5 separate regions of the Homo sapiens genome follow, and regions 2, 3, 4 and 5 are each linked to region 1. The links are contacts of gene promoters, found by promoter capture Hi-C in human tissues and cell types (Jung and others, 2019). All regions are on one chromosome and are shown on one strand. Each heading gives the region's core, a stretch centred on a gene start or on the middle of the fragment in contact. The rest is flanking DNA. Distances are from core to core; before and after follow the strand shown.

What was found. Contacts are between HindIII fragments. The study calls those that stand out against the background at their distance.
Region 2: a contact is called between the fragment with the promoter of USP19 here and the fragment with the promoter of APEH in region 1, in 1 of the 25 tissues and cell types used here (spleen).
Region 3: a contact is called between a fragment that was not itself captured here and the fragment with the promoter of APEH in region 1, in 1 of the 25 tissues and cell types used here (bladder).
Region 4: the fragment with the promoter of P4HTM here is called in contact with the fragment with the promoter of APEH in region 1 in 1 of the 25 tissues and cell types used here (aorta).
Region 5: a fragment that was not itself captured here is called in contact with the fragment with the promoter of APEH in region 1 in 3 of the 25 tissues and cell types used here (dorsolateral prefrontal cortex, lymphoblastoid cells and mesenchymal stem cells).

Annotation. Positions count from the first base shown.
Region 1 is chr3:49,672,926-49,675,625 of GRCh38, forward strand. It overlaps APEH (acylaminoacyl-peptide hydrolase), which reads left to right and starts at 1,426. Exons shown (of 22, transcript NM_001640.4): 1 at 1,426-1,488; 2 at 1,564-1,696; 3 at 2,258-2,384. The coding sequence starts at 1,477. It also overlaps a transcript of BSN not described here. RefSeq lists a silencer at 1,111-1,720. The HindIII fragment of the contact is 11,571 bases long and covers 1-2,700 here.
Region 2 is chr3:49,119,547-49,122,246 of GRCh38, forward strand. USP19 (ubiquitin specific peptidase 19) reads right to left here and starts at 1,277. Exons shown (of 27, transcript NM_001199161.2): 1 at 1,210-1,277. It overlaps LAMB2 (laminin subunit beta 2), which reads right to left. Exons shown (of 32, transcript NM_002292.4): 28 at 2,617-2,700; 29 at 2,398-2,539; 30 at 2,138-2,314; 31 at 1,887-2,046; 32 at 1,568-1,816. The coding sequence ends at 1,680. RefSeq lists enhancers at 576-1,565, 1,566-2,554 and a silencer at 1,138-1,457. The HindIII fragment of the contact is 6,360 bases long and covers 1-1,778 here.
Region 3 is chr3:49,083,396-49,086,095 of GRCh38, forward strand. All of the region lies in intron 1 of QRICH1 (glutamine rich 1), which reads right to left. It also overlaps the pseudogene RN7SL182P. Among named protein-coding and RNA genes, the nearest start is that of QRICH1, 9.3 kb to the right of the region's middle. The HindIII fragment of the contact is 6,032 bases long and covers 1-2,700 here.
Region 4 is chr3:48,988,905-48,991,604 of GRCh38, forward strand. P4HTM (prolyl 4-hydroxylase, transmembrane) reads left to right here and starts at 1,337. Exons shown (of 9, transcript NM_177939.3): 1 at 1,337-1,706; 2 at 1,929-2,010. The coding sequence starts at 1,353. It overlaps LOC124909376 (a long non-coding RNA gene), which reads right to left and starts at 968. Exons shown (of 2, transcript XR_007095903.1): 1 at 644-968. RefSeq lists enhancers at 57-620, 621-1,183, 931-1,090, 1,748-2,309 and a silencer at 1,201-1,580. The HindIII fragment of the contact is 19,056 bases long and covers 1-2,700 here.
Region 5 is chr3:49,136,850-49,139,556 of GRCh38, forward strand. All of the region lies in intron 1 of LOC124909377 (a long non-coding RNA gene), which reads left to right. Among named protein-coding and RNA genes, the nearest start is that of LAMB2, 5.2 kb to the left of the region's middle. The HindIII fragment of the contact is 9,716 bases long and covers 1-2,707 here.

The sequences.
Region 1 (2,700 bases), core at 176-2,675:
CCTGCCACCATGCCCAGCTAATTTTTTGTATTTTTAGTAGAGACAGGGTTTCACCGTGTTAGCCAGGATGGTCTCGATCTCCTGACCTCGTGATCCGCCCGCCTCGGCCTTCCAAAGTGCAGGGATTACAGGCGTGAGCCACCGCGCCCGGCCGGCCGGGACTTTTTTTTTTTTTTTTTTTTTTTTTTTTACTTAACTAGTTATCTTGAGTAAGTAATGATGCGGCTGATGGGAAAGGGGAAGCTACAGGCCAGACAAGTGGACTCTCAATCACAAGCACGCCATGGAGCAGGGAGCCAGGGCCCTGAATGTGGAAGACCAGCCAGACTCAGGTATATGGAGGGAACATCCTTACTGTCCAGCCTCTCCTGATCTCTGTTGGCACCTTAGCCCAGCCAATCCTGTACCACGTGCACAGGGAACCTGCCTGCCTAGGTTTTTTCCACAGGAAGCTCCCTGGTCCTGGGTGGAGTCTGAGCCCACCAGGCCTTTCACACCCAAGAGCTCAGGGTGAGGCCTGGGGAGGAAGGCAGGGACCCACCAGCTCACGGTCCCCAACAAGGTGCCACTGAGAAGGCTGGGTAAAGGCTGCGGGGATAGATAGCTCTTGCGGCAGGCCTGGCGACTGATAAGTCCGGGCAGCACCCTAAGAGTTGGCACCCGCCCCTCTGCCCCGCACCCCAGGGCTTTGCTTCGCGCCCTCCGCCCGGACCCTGGCCCTTCTCTTCTTCGTCTGCGTGGAACTCCCTCCAGGGCAGGGCCTGGCACTGTGTAGTGAATGTCGGCCTCGTGGTGGACCCGAAGGAACCCTACAGTCAGCCCCAGAGCCGCGGGAGATCCACGCTGCGGCCGGCTCCGCCCCGCCCAACCCTCACCCTCACGCTCACGCTCACGCTCACGCTCACGCTCACGCTCACAGGCTCCCGGCTCCACATTCCTCGCAGGGCTCCAATCCGGACCCGCCCGCCTTGCCCTTCATCCTCAAAGACTCATTGGTCCCATTCCCCTCGGGCCCCGCCCTTCGCGTGCTTGGGCCATGCCCGTCCGACCGCGCTGCTTCCGCCTTGCAGCACCCCCTCAACCCCTTCTCTCGTAGGCCCTTCTACCCTCCCCGAAGCCGGGCTCCCGGGTTCCGCTTCCACAGGGCCGCCCCCTCTCCTCCGAGATCCAACGCCTCGCCCCTCGGTAAGAGGCCCAGGACTCAGCCCACGGCCCCGCCCCCCACTTGGCTAGTCCGCCCCTGGCGAGACCCCTGCTCTCACCCACCCAGGACTTCTCGCTCCCAGGCCGGGTCCTCTCACCGTCAAGGCCCGCCCCCTGCCAACGGTCCTCACCCATTAGCCGAAGGCCCCGCCCCTCACAGATTGCCGCAGGGCAGGGGCGGAGACAGCCCGGGCCGTCCCAGGCTCCGCCCCCGGAAGCCTCACTTCCGGGCGCGAGCACGCCCCGCCTCGCCCCGGCGGCAGAGAGGAGACTATGGAACGTCAGGTGAGGGCTCGGCCCGCGGTCCCCGTGGTCCCTGCAGCCCGGGCCGGGCCTGACCCTGGTGTGTCCCCTGCGCAGGTGCTGCTGAGCGAGCCCGAGGAGGCGGCGGCTCTGTATCGGGGCCTTAGCCGCCAGCCCGCGCTGAGCGCCGCCTGCCTGGGCCCGGAGGTCACCACGCAGTACGGCGGCCAATACCGGACGGTGCACACTGGTGTGTGTGCGAAGGGGAACTGGCTGGCGACGGGGTCGCGCACTGGGGTGGGAAGGAAGGGGGTGTGGAGGGCTCGCTGCTTGACAGTGCGTAAGGGTATATAGGGAGCCGGCCTGGACTTGGAGGTTACACTCCCACAGGTCCCTGCACACAGGTGTGTGGAGGGGGGGAGGGGGCGTGCGGGGCGTTATCGAATGGCGGCCATGAGTGCACGAGATGACGGCGTAGGGGTAGAAGTCAAACCTGGGCTCAGGGCGTGGACCTTGTAGGGCTCTCCACCAACACGCCATCCCATACACATGCCAGGCTGCCCTCAAGATTCCAGGGTGGATGCTGGGGTTACTAGGGGGTTCTCTCAAAGAGGCTGTCAGCTCAGGCTCTGGAGGCCTGGACTAGGGTTGTGGCCAAGTGTTGTCCAGCCTGCAGCCAGGGTGTCAGTGTCTGGAGACAGATTGAGAGATTGGGGAAGATAGATCTAGGCCTTCCTGGGTCAGGTGGGGCTGGGGGCAGTAGCCAGGAGTAGCCAAGACAAGGTGAGCAGTCTCATGCCTCCCCTCACAGAGTGGACCCAGAGGGACCTGGAACGCATGGAGAACATTCGATTCTGCCGCCAATACCTGGTGTTCCATGACGGGGACTCAGTGGTGTTTGCAGGACCTGCAGGCAACAGTGTGGAGACCCGGGGGGAGTAAGTTTGAGGGAGGAAGCTTGTGGGCAAGGCCACAGCCGTCCGCAATGCAAGCCTTTTATGAATGCTCACCATGTGCCTAGAAGGGAGGCCAGCAGCCAGGTTCTTGCCCCCTTGGGAGCTCATTCAGTTTCTGGTGACATGGCCTGATAAGCACTGGAAGCTTGCTCCAAACTCAGCCTGGACTAGAGCCCATGGTGGCCTGGGGAGTTGCAGAGAGTAGAGTCTCTGCCTCAGGGAGGAAAGGCAAGGTGGGGCTAGAGGTGCTCCAGAAGCTGGTGTGGGGCCAGAGCCTCAAGAATCTCTCCTAAGAGGT
Region 2 (2,700 bases), core at 27-2,526, 550 kb before region 1:
ATGGCCTGGGACCAGGCTACTCCACCAATCTGGAGAGGAGCCACGGCTCCAGCCCACAGGGCTGGCACTCCGAGCAGGGTGCTCACTTTTCCTTCACTCTCACTGGCTGCTTAGTCACCACTGGAGAAATAGAAGGTGGAGGAGGAAGGCAGGACAGGAGACAAGCCGCAGGAGAACCAGGCTCTGTGGCTGTAAACAGGCTCAACCCAGGTTCTACCATTGCCCAGAAAAAGTCCTGGGGCTAAGGCACTCCACCTGCCTCCTGCCAGCTCCCACCCTTGGCAAGAACCTGCTCCTATGTACTGCTTGGTCCTTCTTCATTTCAAGAGAAAGTCCTCTCCCCAGCTGCTGTCCCAAGCAGAAAGGGACTGAAAAGTGTATCTAGATGTCACGCTACCTCTTCAGCAGCAACCCTGCTCCAGTACTAAGGCAGGATGGGCATCCAGTTTGAGACTGGAACAGAAATTATCACCTTCCTTCCCAGATGCCTTCACTCATGAGCTCTGAGCCACAAGGACCACTACAGTTTCCCACAGACCCACCAGTGGATTCTGGACTGTTTCCTCCTCCAAAATGAAGGTCTTGAAACTAGATACTGAGATGAGGCTGGGGAGGACCACAGATCCAGGACTCCTGGCAGCCTCAAGCCTGGCCTGAACCAGTAGCAGGACAGATAATGACTAGTCTGTGTTCCCCTAAGTGTGTAAAGGAGGAAGGAGGGATGGCAGGATACCCTTCTACAGGTCAGATGTGGTACTGGTGGGCTGGATCTTTAATGACACCTGCCACCGGCGCCTCCTTCTTGCACCCAGGCCCCAGCCGAAGGTCGCGTCCCTCCCCCATGCCCCAGGGACGTCGAGGCGGGTAAGGGGCTGTTTAGAGACCCGAGCCGGCCTGAAATGGCAGCGCGGGGTTACTGACCACAGATCAGCGCCCCGGTCGAGCTGCGACCCAGCTTCAGCCTCTGAACCCCGAGCCCGCCACCACCTCTCCCACGAAGTTGCCCTCGCTGGCCGCCAGTCCTCTCCCAGGTGGGAGGCTGGCCACAGGCATAGCGTAACGGCCCTGCCGGCATCAGTGGGCTGGCACGCTGCGGGGCACTAGGGGTAGGGACTGGCACGGCCCGTGACCTTGAACAGGCCGCCGCGGCCGCGCGTTGCGGCCTCCCCGCTGCGGCCAAGCCAGCGAGTTGCAGCCTGCTCCACTCACCGAGCGAGACCGCCGCAGCCAGCCCTCTTCGGGCCCTGGCAACCCGCTCTCCGTTCCGGTTCCGGCGCAGGTCGGTTCCGGTTCCGGCGCGCCCCTCCCCCGTCCCGGCGCCGCCGCCACCGCCTTAGCGGCTTGTTTTGTTTCGACTTCTAGCTAAGGCCGAGGGAGGCGGAGCGCCAAGCTGGTGACGCACTTCCGGCGGGAATGGGCTCGGAGCGACCCGCAGCTCCGGGGCGGGCCCGAGCGGAAGGAGGCGGTGCTCGGGTGGCTTAGCGGTGCATGGGTTCTGCTGGGGGCAACCTCGAGGTTCCCCTGGAGACTCCCCCGCCCGCCCCAAATCAGAGTCCAGACAACACAGTGGGGGTTCACACTGGTTTATTGGGGGCCCTGCCGGGCCAAGAGCTCTTCAGTGCATAGGCAGACATGCATGTGGGGCAGTGCTAGGAACTGGGGTAGGCCTTGGGCAGGGGTCACTGGCAGGTGTTGTAGATCTGCACCTGCAAGTTGATGGCTTGAAGCACGCTGCGCATCCTGGCCTCCAACCCGTCCAACTGGGCTGCCTTACTCTCCAGTGCCCGCTCATTTTCCTCATAGGTGCCTTCCAATTCTAGGAAGGGCAGGTGTCAGTTTAGGGGGGGTTTCCCGCAGTCTTGTGTCTCTGGTGCCCCATTTCTTACCCTGTAGCCGCTGCAGCTTGTCCTGAGCGGCTTGCAACAGGTCCCGAGCCTCATCCCGCAGTTGTTCTGCCCTTGCCTGTGCAGCCAGCACACCTTGGGCCTTGCGCTCAGCTAGGGCCTTCACCGTCTGGTACTGATCACCCAGAGGACCGCGTAGCAGCTGCAGATGTAGAGGGTTAGGTTAGCGTGGTAGCTCAGTGGAGGCCCATCTTCCACCCCTACCTTCTCCAGCTGGCTCTGCCTCAACCCACCTGCTCAGCCTCCTGGGCACGACCCTGGGCACTGCCTGCCGTTTCTTCTGCTGTAGAGGCTGCCAGACTATTTCCTGCCCGTTTCAATTTCAGAGCCTCCAGGAGAGCATCCAACTGCCGAGCCCTTTCACCTGCAGAGCTCAGTGCCCGCTCTGCACCTGCCATCCTCTCCTGTACCTGCCATGGGTGAGCCAAAGGTTACACAGATCTACGGTTCATGCCCATAACCTTGTCCCACTGATGTCCTAGGAAGACCTCACCTGGTACAGGGTCTGCTCTGTGTCCCGTGTGTCAGCCACTGCCCCCCGGATGGCACCCTGGGCAATACCCTGTGCCCGCTGGGCCTCCTCCAGTGCTGCCTGTACTGTCTCTGCCTTCTGTTTCTCATCCTCAGCCCAGCTCCTGGGGAGAAGGGGGAATCAGAACCTGGAGGTATCAAAACCAGGTGTCAGGGATAGGGGCCAGGGATGGGGTCAGACCTTGCCCGCCGTGCATCCTGCAGTAGCTGCTCGGCACGACGCACATCTCCTACAGTACGTGCCAGGATCGCATCCACATCTGCC
Region 3 (2,700 bases), core at 12-2,511, 590 kb before region 1:
CCAGGTTGCCTAAAGAGGGGTGAACCACCCCAGGTTGGAAATGGGGCAGGTCAAAACTTCCATACTGCAGTAGTAGAATCCTGTCTGTGGATAGCCACAGCACTCCAACCTGGGCACCACAGTGAGATCCCATCTCTTAGAAATAATAGTAATAATTTAAAAGACAAACAAGCTTGAGGTAGGAAAAATTCCATAAAACCATTAGAAAATATCAATACTAAGCTTGGCATGGTGGTTCTCGCCTGTAGTCCCAGCTACTTGGGAGGCCGAGGCAGGAGGATAGGATGGCTTGATCCCAGCAGTTTGAGCCTGCAATGAGCTATGATCATGCCACTGCACTCCAGCTTGGGTGACAGAGTGAGACTCCATCTCAAAAAAAAAAAATTAGCCAGGTGTGGTGCTGCATACCTGTAGTCCCAGCTACTTGGGAGGCTGAGGCAGGAGAATCGCTTGAACCCAGGAGGCACAATCTTGGCTCACTGCAACCTCCGTGCCCCCCAGGTTCAAGCGATTCTCCTGCCTCAGCCTCCCGAGTAGCTAGGATTACAGGCACCTGCCACCGTGCCTGGCTAATTTTTGTATTTTTAGTAGAGGCAGGGTTTCACCATCTTGGCCAAGCTGGTCTTGAACTCCTAAACTCATGATCCACCCGCCTCAGCCTCCCAAAGTGCTGGGATTACAGGTATGAGCCACCGCACCCGGCCCACATCCGGCTAATTTTTATATTTTTAGTAGAGATGAGGTTTTGCCATGTTGGCCAGGCTGGTCTCGAACTCTTAACCTCAGGTAATCCACTCGCTTCCACCTTCCAAAGTGCTGGGATTACAGGCATGAGCAACCACACCCAGCCTAAATTCTTTTTTATTTTTATTTTTATTGAGACACAGTGTTGCTCTGTCGCCCAGGCTGGAGCGTAGTGGCACGATCCTGGCTCACTGAAACCTCCGCCTCCTAGGTTCAAGCAATTCTCCTGCCTCAGCCTCCAAAGTGGCTGGGATTACGGGCACCCGCCACCATGCCCAGCTAATTTTTGTATTTTAGTAGAGACGGGATTTCGCCATGTTGGTCAGGATGTACTCAAACTCCTGACCTCAAGCGATCCACAGCATCGGTCTCCCAAAGTGCTAGGATTACAGGCGTGAGCCATCACATCCAGCCAAGATTGTGAGACCAGCCTGGCCAACATGGTGAAACCCCATCTCCACTAAAAATACAAAAACTAACAGGGCATGGTGGCAGCCACCCGTAATCCCAGCTACTCTAGAGGCTGAGGCAGGAGAATTGCTTGAATCCGGGAGGCGGAGGTTGTAGTGAGCTGAGACTGCGCCACTGCACTTCAGCCTGGGGAAAGAGTGAGACTCCACCTCAAAAAATGATAAAAAGGAATGCTAACAGTAGTTATGCCTAGATGATGGAACCACAGAGTAATTAAGTTTCTTCTGTTAAACACTCTTCTGAATTTTCCACAAGTGGTATTAATCTAAGGCTCACGCCTGTAATCCCAGCACTTTCCGAGGCAGGCAGATCACCAGATCAGGAGATCGAGACCATCCTGGCTATCACGGTGAAACCCCGTCTCTACTAAAAATACAAAAAAATTAGCCGGGTGTGGTGTTGGGCGCCTGTAGTCCCAGCTACTCGGGAGGCTGAGGCAGGAGAATGGTGTGAATCTGGGAGGTGGAGCTTGCAGTGAGCCAAGATCGTGCCACTGCACTCCAGCCTGGGCGACAGAGCAAGACTCCGTCTCAAAAAAAAAAAAATCATCTTTTTCTACACAGTGGCTATAGTGTAGTAATGGTAAGACACATAATTCTGGCTGATCATAGTATGATTTTCTTTCAAAATCTGAAAGAAACTAAACCGGCCGAAAGAGGTGGCTCATGCCTGTAATCCCAGCATTTTGGGAGGCCGAGGCAGGCGGATCACCAGGTCAGGAGATCGAGACCATCCTGGCTATCACGGTGAAACCCCATCTCTACTAAAAATACAAGTGGTTATAGTGTAGTAATGGTAACAGACACGTAATTCTGGTTGATCATAGTACGATTTTCTTTCAAAATCTGAAAGAAACTAAACCTGCCGAACGAGGTGGCTCATACCTGTAATCCCAGCACTTTGGGAGGCCGAGGTGGGTGGATCACCTGAGGTCAGTAGTTTGAGACCAGCCTGACCAACATGATGAAACCCCGCCTCTACTAAAAATACAAAAAAAATTAGCCAGGTGTGGTGACACGTGCCTGTAATCCCAGCTACTCGGAAGGCTGAGACAGGAGAATCGCTTGAACCTGGGAGGTGGAGGTTGCAGTGAGCCAAGACCATGCCACTGCACTCCGGCCTGGGCAACAAGGGCAAAACTCCATCTCAAAAAAAAAAAAAAGAAAAAGAAACTAAACCATAAAATACCAAAAACTTGTACAAAATAATGAAGACTTAACTTCAAGATGCTGCACATAAGACACAAAAGTTGAGCCTTCGTAATAAAGAGAAATGGAGAAACTTCTAAAAGAGACAAAAGATTCTTAATTAGCTCCAAGTAAAAGACTTAGTAAGAAGCAATAAAGAAATTAATTAAAGTATTTCTGAAAAACATGCAGCCATGAGGATATCTGAGTGTTCCCAATTTCTGGGACTCTGATGAGACTAATAATGAAAAAAGAAAATACTCTAATGCTCTTGGGGTGTATGAGGTCTGTAAACAAG
Region 4 (2,700 bases), core at 87-2,586, 680 kb before region 1:
TTAAAAAATTAAAACTAAATAATAATAAATAAAAATACAAAAAAAAAAATTGGCCCGCCATGGTGGCGCATGCCAGCTACTTGGTAGGCTGAGGCAGGAGAATTGCTTGAACCCGGAAGGCAGAGGTTGCAGTGAGCCAAGATCGCGCCACTGCACTCCAGCCTGGGCGACAGAGTGAGACTCCGTCACACACACACAAAAAATCTTAGAAGAAAGAGGTGGGCCTGCCCTTGGAGCCCCTGGCCTGCCTTGACTTGAGGGGACTAGAAAATGCAGACTATGCTTTGCTATGGGGAAGGGAGAGGAGATGGGAGTAGAGGTAGTGGGGGTCTTAACCAGGGTAGGGAGAAACCACCAGTGTGACCTGCCTTAAAAGTGTTGCTCTTGCCTGCAAGTCCACCTCGGGGAGGGGGGTCAGCTTCTGCCCTGAGGGCGTGTAGTAATCTCTTCCTGAGGATAACCAGCTCTAGAAGAGCAGGGATGCCTTGGCACTTGACCACTGGTAGGTATGTCCTCCCCCCACCCCCGTTTTTGGTGATAATCTGTTTAATTTTTCTCTGAGGTAATGGTGTCTCAGTTATGGAAGAGTCCCTTCCCGCCTCTTCACACGTGCCAGCTTTGATGCAAGGAGTGTTCCATATACCTGAGCACTGGTTCATTCCTGCGGGCTGCCATGGGGGGCTCACTTTCCTGATGCCAGGGCTCCTCCAGGATGCCCCCTCTGACGGCCTATGAAACCTTGCACATCAGGCAGCTTCTTCCTAAGGCCTGCCTGACTCCGGCGAGACTTCCCGGGAGATCCGGACCGACCGCGGAACCGAGCTCCAAGAATGCCTGCGAGGAGGCTGTGGGTCCTACCCTATCGCCGCTTACGCAGTCCCAGCCTCCGCGGCGCCCCCAAATGCCGCACTGTTGAGTCATCTCAGCGCTGCCTCCTCCGCGCTGCGCTCCCCACCCCCGCTCCTGGAGCAAGAAGATGCAGACGATACTTTTCCCGGAGGCAAGAGGGCGTCTTCACGCAGGCACCGAGAAGCTCCCACTAGTGTATGCCTTAATGGTGCCGCTCTTGTCCGCGTCTACGCTTGGGACCTTGGCTTCTGACTTGGAGAGTGTACAGCTCTGCCCGACGGCAACCCAGCTTGGGAAGAGAAGCCCCAGCGTGGGCTGGGGCTCAAGGCGCAGGAAGGCCGAGCCCGGCGCGGACGCAGGCGGCTCCGGGCGGGCTCAGCACCCCCAGGCACCGTCTCCTAGTGACCGCGGCGCTCGCGGGCCTGGCGGCCGTTGTCCGGGCGACTGCGCAGCGCGGGCACCCCCGCGGCCCCTCCCCTGGGCGCGCGCGCGACCTGGGTGCCATGGCGGCAGCGGCGGTGACAGGCCAGCGGCCTGAGACCGCGGCGGCCGAGGAGGCCTCGAGGCCGCAGTGGGCGCCGCCAGACCACTGCCAGGCTCAGGCGGCGGCCGGGCTGGGCGACGGCGAGGACGCACCGGTGCGTCCGCTGTGCAAGCCCCGCGGCATCTGCTCGCGCGCCTACTTCCTGGTGCTGATGGTGTTCGTGCACCTGTACCTGGGTAACGTGCTGGCGCTGCTGCTCTTCGTGCACTACAGCAACGGCGACGAAAGCAGCGATCCCGGGCCCCAACACCGTGCCCAGGGCCCCGGGCCCGAGCCCACCTTAGGTCCCCTCACCCGGCTGGAGGGCATCAAGGTGAGGACCTCCCTGCCCCGCCGCGCTCCAGGCCCTGCACGGCTGAGCCCGAGAGGACCGGCGCTCAGCCCGGGTCCCCACGCTGCCCCCGGCGCTGCTCTGCGTCGGTCCCGCGCGCTCCCACTCACTCGCCTGCTGTCGCTCTCCGGGCCGGGGCGACTTGGCCCTTCTTGGGCAGCGCGGTCTGGCGCCCCAGCTGCCCGCTGTGCGCCTTTTCCTTAGGTGGGGCACGAGCGTAAGGTCCAGCTGGTCACCGACAGGGATCACTTCATCCGAACCCTCAGCCTCAAGCCGCTGCTCTTCGGTAAGTCCGCCAGATACTCCTGGGAAGGGCCAGGGGCTGCGGTTTGGTGGCCACCTTGAGGCTCGTTGTGACCACGTGACCTCTATTTTGAAAATGGCTGCTTCAGAGCAGCCCTTCCAGAGGATTACCAAAGTGAAGGACCTTCCCCGTCCTCGAAATAGGGTAACACTCCCTCTTATCCCAACTCCCTGCAGTCCATTCTTCCATCACAGGGCTGGCAGGGTGAGCCTGAGGCTGGTGTCTAAACGTTTCATTGCACCTGTCTTCCGTGCCACCATTAATTCTGTCACCTTCTAGAACTGGGAGGAAGGTGGGAGACTGATAACCAGCTTTCTGCCGACCTCAGGACCTCTGGGGAAAATCCCACTGCCGAAGTGGGCCTTGTGGTCTGATGAGAAGCAGGCCGTCCAAATGTAGATAAACTGGTACCCCCCCAGCCTCCTCCACTGGAGTACCAGTCAGAGGCTCAGCTTTTGCTGCCAGCACTCTGAGATTCTTCTTAAGGTGAAGTCTTTGTTCAGCCATCATGGGCAAAGCTTTCTAGGGTGACTCCAGTTGGAGCCACAACATAGCTCATCGTTTCTGAGCTCTAGTTATGTGCTTGCCTTCATATGATTATTTCATTTAATTCCTGCAACCCCTCTGTGAAGTGGGTGTAGATCCTACTCAGGCCAGTGAGGGGGAAAGTTA
Region 5 (2,707 bases), core at 48-2,547, 540 kb before region 1:
ACAAGGTCAGGAGTTTGAGACCAGCCTGGCCAATGTAGTGAAAACTCATCTCTACTAAAAATAACAAAAATTAGCTGGATGTGGTGGCGGGTGCCTGTAATCCCAGCTACTCAGAAGGCTGAGGCAGGAGAATCGCTTGAACCCAGGAGGTGGCGGTTGTGGTGAGCCGAGATCACGCCACTGCACTCCAGCCTGGGTGACAGAGCGAGACTCTCCCTCTCAAAAATAATAATAATAATACTAAAATAAAAAGAGCCAATTGTTAAATTTTCAGGAATTTTGCAAATAAGTTGTCAAATGGTATGGACTGAAATCAATCATGATAGCATTACTTACATCATGGATATTGACAAATGCTAAAAATCAGTTTCCCCTGACTCACAGCCAGTTGTTAAAAATTTATCTACACACATGGCCAGATGCGGTGGCTCACGCCTGTAATCCCAGCACTTTGGGAGGCGAAGGCGGGTGGATCATGAGGTCAGGAGTTCAAGACCAGCCTGGCCAAGATGGTGAAACCCCGTCTCTACTAAAAATACAAAAAAAAATTACAGTGTGCCTGTAATCCCAGCTACTTGGGAGGCTGAGGTGGGAGAATCGCTTGAACCCGGGGGGCGCAGGTTGCAGTGAGCCGAGATTGCACCACTGCACTCCAGCCTGGGTGACAGAGCAAGACTCCCTCTCAAAAAAAAAAAAAAAATTTACGCACACACTAGTGTTCCCACTTGACCCCTGGTCAGCCCTGATGAATATTCCTCATTCTGGAAGGAGTATCATGATAGTGTCCTGCATACCCTATTAACCCTGCCCTTGGCTGTGAACAGACATGCAACAAGCAGATATGTACCCATGAGGAAGCGCTGGATGATCTGCACGGCTGCTTGCATGTGGGTCATGGCAGTCATGCCCCAAGGTCCCCTTTCCCAATACCATGTCTCCTGTGCCTGGATTCCTGTGGAGCTTGCTATGGCCTGGATTTGCTGCAGCTGGTGGGCGTGGGTCAGATGTGGAATATGTTGCCTACAACACCATGTCCAAGCCATGGTTTCCTGTGACTCCCCCATGGCTCCCACCCACAGTCCCCCTGGCTGTGTACCTGTTGTTGATGCTGCTCCAAGGCTGTGACTCTATGTCCAGGCTATGGGAGGAGTTGTGGAAGGCAACAAGAGCCCACTGAACAGTGGGCAGGGTCCCAGGTTGGAGGGAGCAGCCTGTGCCTGCTACAGTACCCAATCTAGGACCTGCAGGTGTCCACCCTGGCCCCTAACACCCCCACCAGGCATCCCCTAGCATAGGGTGGCCACCTCTTGGGCCACAGCTTCCAGCTGCAGTGGGAGCAGAGCCAGGAGTTGGTCTCAGAAGGTGAAGCAGGTGGGACAGGAGGTGCAGTGTGGGAAGGCACCTCTGGAGCCATGAGCACATGCCTGGCACCTCAGCCCTAAGATGCCCTCTCTGAAGAAGCAGGTGCCCATGTGTGAATCACAGCTGGGCAAGATGGAGCCCTGTGGGTCACAGGCACAGGCTGCAGAGGAGAGATAGGGTCAGGGTAGAGAGCAGATGACACTAGCTCTAGCCTTACCTTCGAGAGACCTGAAGGATGGGCCAGGTGCAGTGACTCACACCTGTAACCCCACCACTTTGGGAGGCTGAGGCAGGAGGATCACTTGAGCTCAGGAGTTTGAGACCAGCCTGAGCAACATAGGGAGATCCTGTCTCTACAAAAAAATTTAAAAATTAGCCAGGTGTGGCGGCGTGTGCTGTAGTCTCAGCTACTCAGCAGGATGAGGTGGGAGGATCACTTGAACCTGGGAGGTTGAGGCTGTAGTGAGCTAAGATCATGCCACTGTACTCCAGCCCAGGTGACAGAGTGAGACCCTATTTCTTTTCCTTTTTTTTTTTTTGTGAGACAGAGTCTCGCTCTGTAAGTGTAGTGGTGCGATCTCGTCTCACTGCAACCTTCACCTCCCAGGTTCAAGCAATTCTCCTGCCTCAGCCTCCTGAGCAGCTGTGACTACAGGCAACCGCCAACATGCCTGGCTAATTTTTTTTTTTTTGTATTTTTAGTAGAGACGGGGTTTCACCATATTGGCTAGGCTGGTCTTAAACTCCTGACCTCATGATCTACCCGCCTCGGCCTCCCAAAGTGTTGGGATTACAGGCGTGAGCCACTGTGCCTGACCCATGAGACCCTATTTCTGAAAAAATAATAGGTCTGTGGGAGGCTAAGGTGGGTGGATCACTTGAGCTCAGGAGTTCAAGACCAGCCTGGGCAACATGGAAAAACCCCATCTCTACAAAAAATACAAAAATTAGCTGGACATGGTGGGGCACACCTGTGGTCCCAGCTCCTCAGGAGATAAGGCGGGAGGATCCCTTGAGCCTGGAAGGTTGAGACTGCAATGAGCCAAGATTGTGCCACTGCACTCCAGCTTGGGTGACAGAGTGAGAGCCCGTCTCAAAAAAAAATGTCTGAAGGGGCTGAGCACGGTGGCTCACGCCTGTAATCCCAGCACTTTGGGAGGCTGAGGCGGGCAGATCACGAGGTTAGGAGATTGAGACCATCCTGGCTAACATGGTGAAATCCCGTCTCTATTAAAAATACAAAAACAAAATTAGCCGGGCGTGGTGGCGGGCACCTGTAGTCCCAGCTACTCAGGAGGCTGAGGCAGGAGAATGGCATGAACCTGGGAGGCGGAGCTTGCAGTGA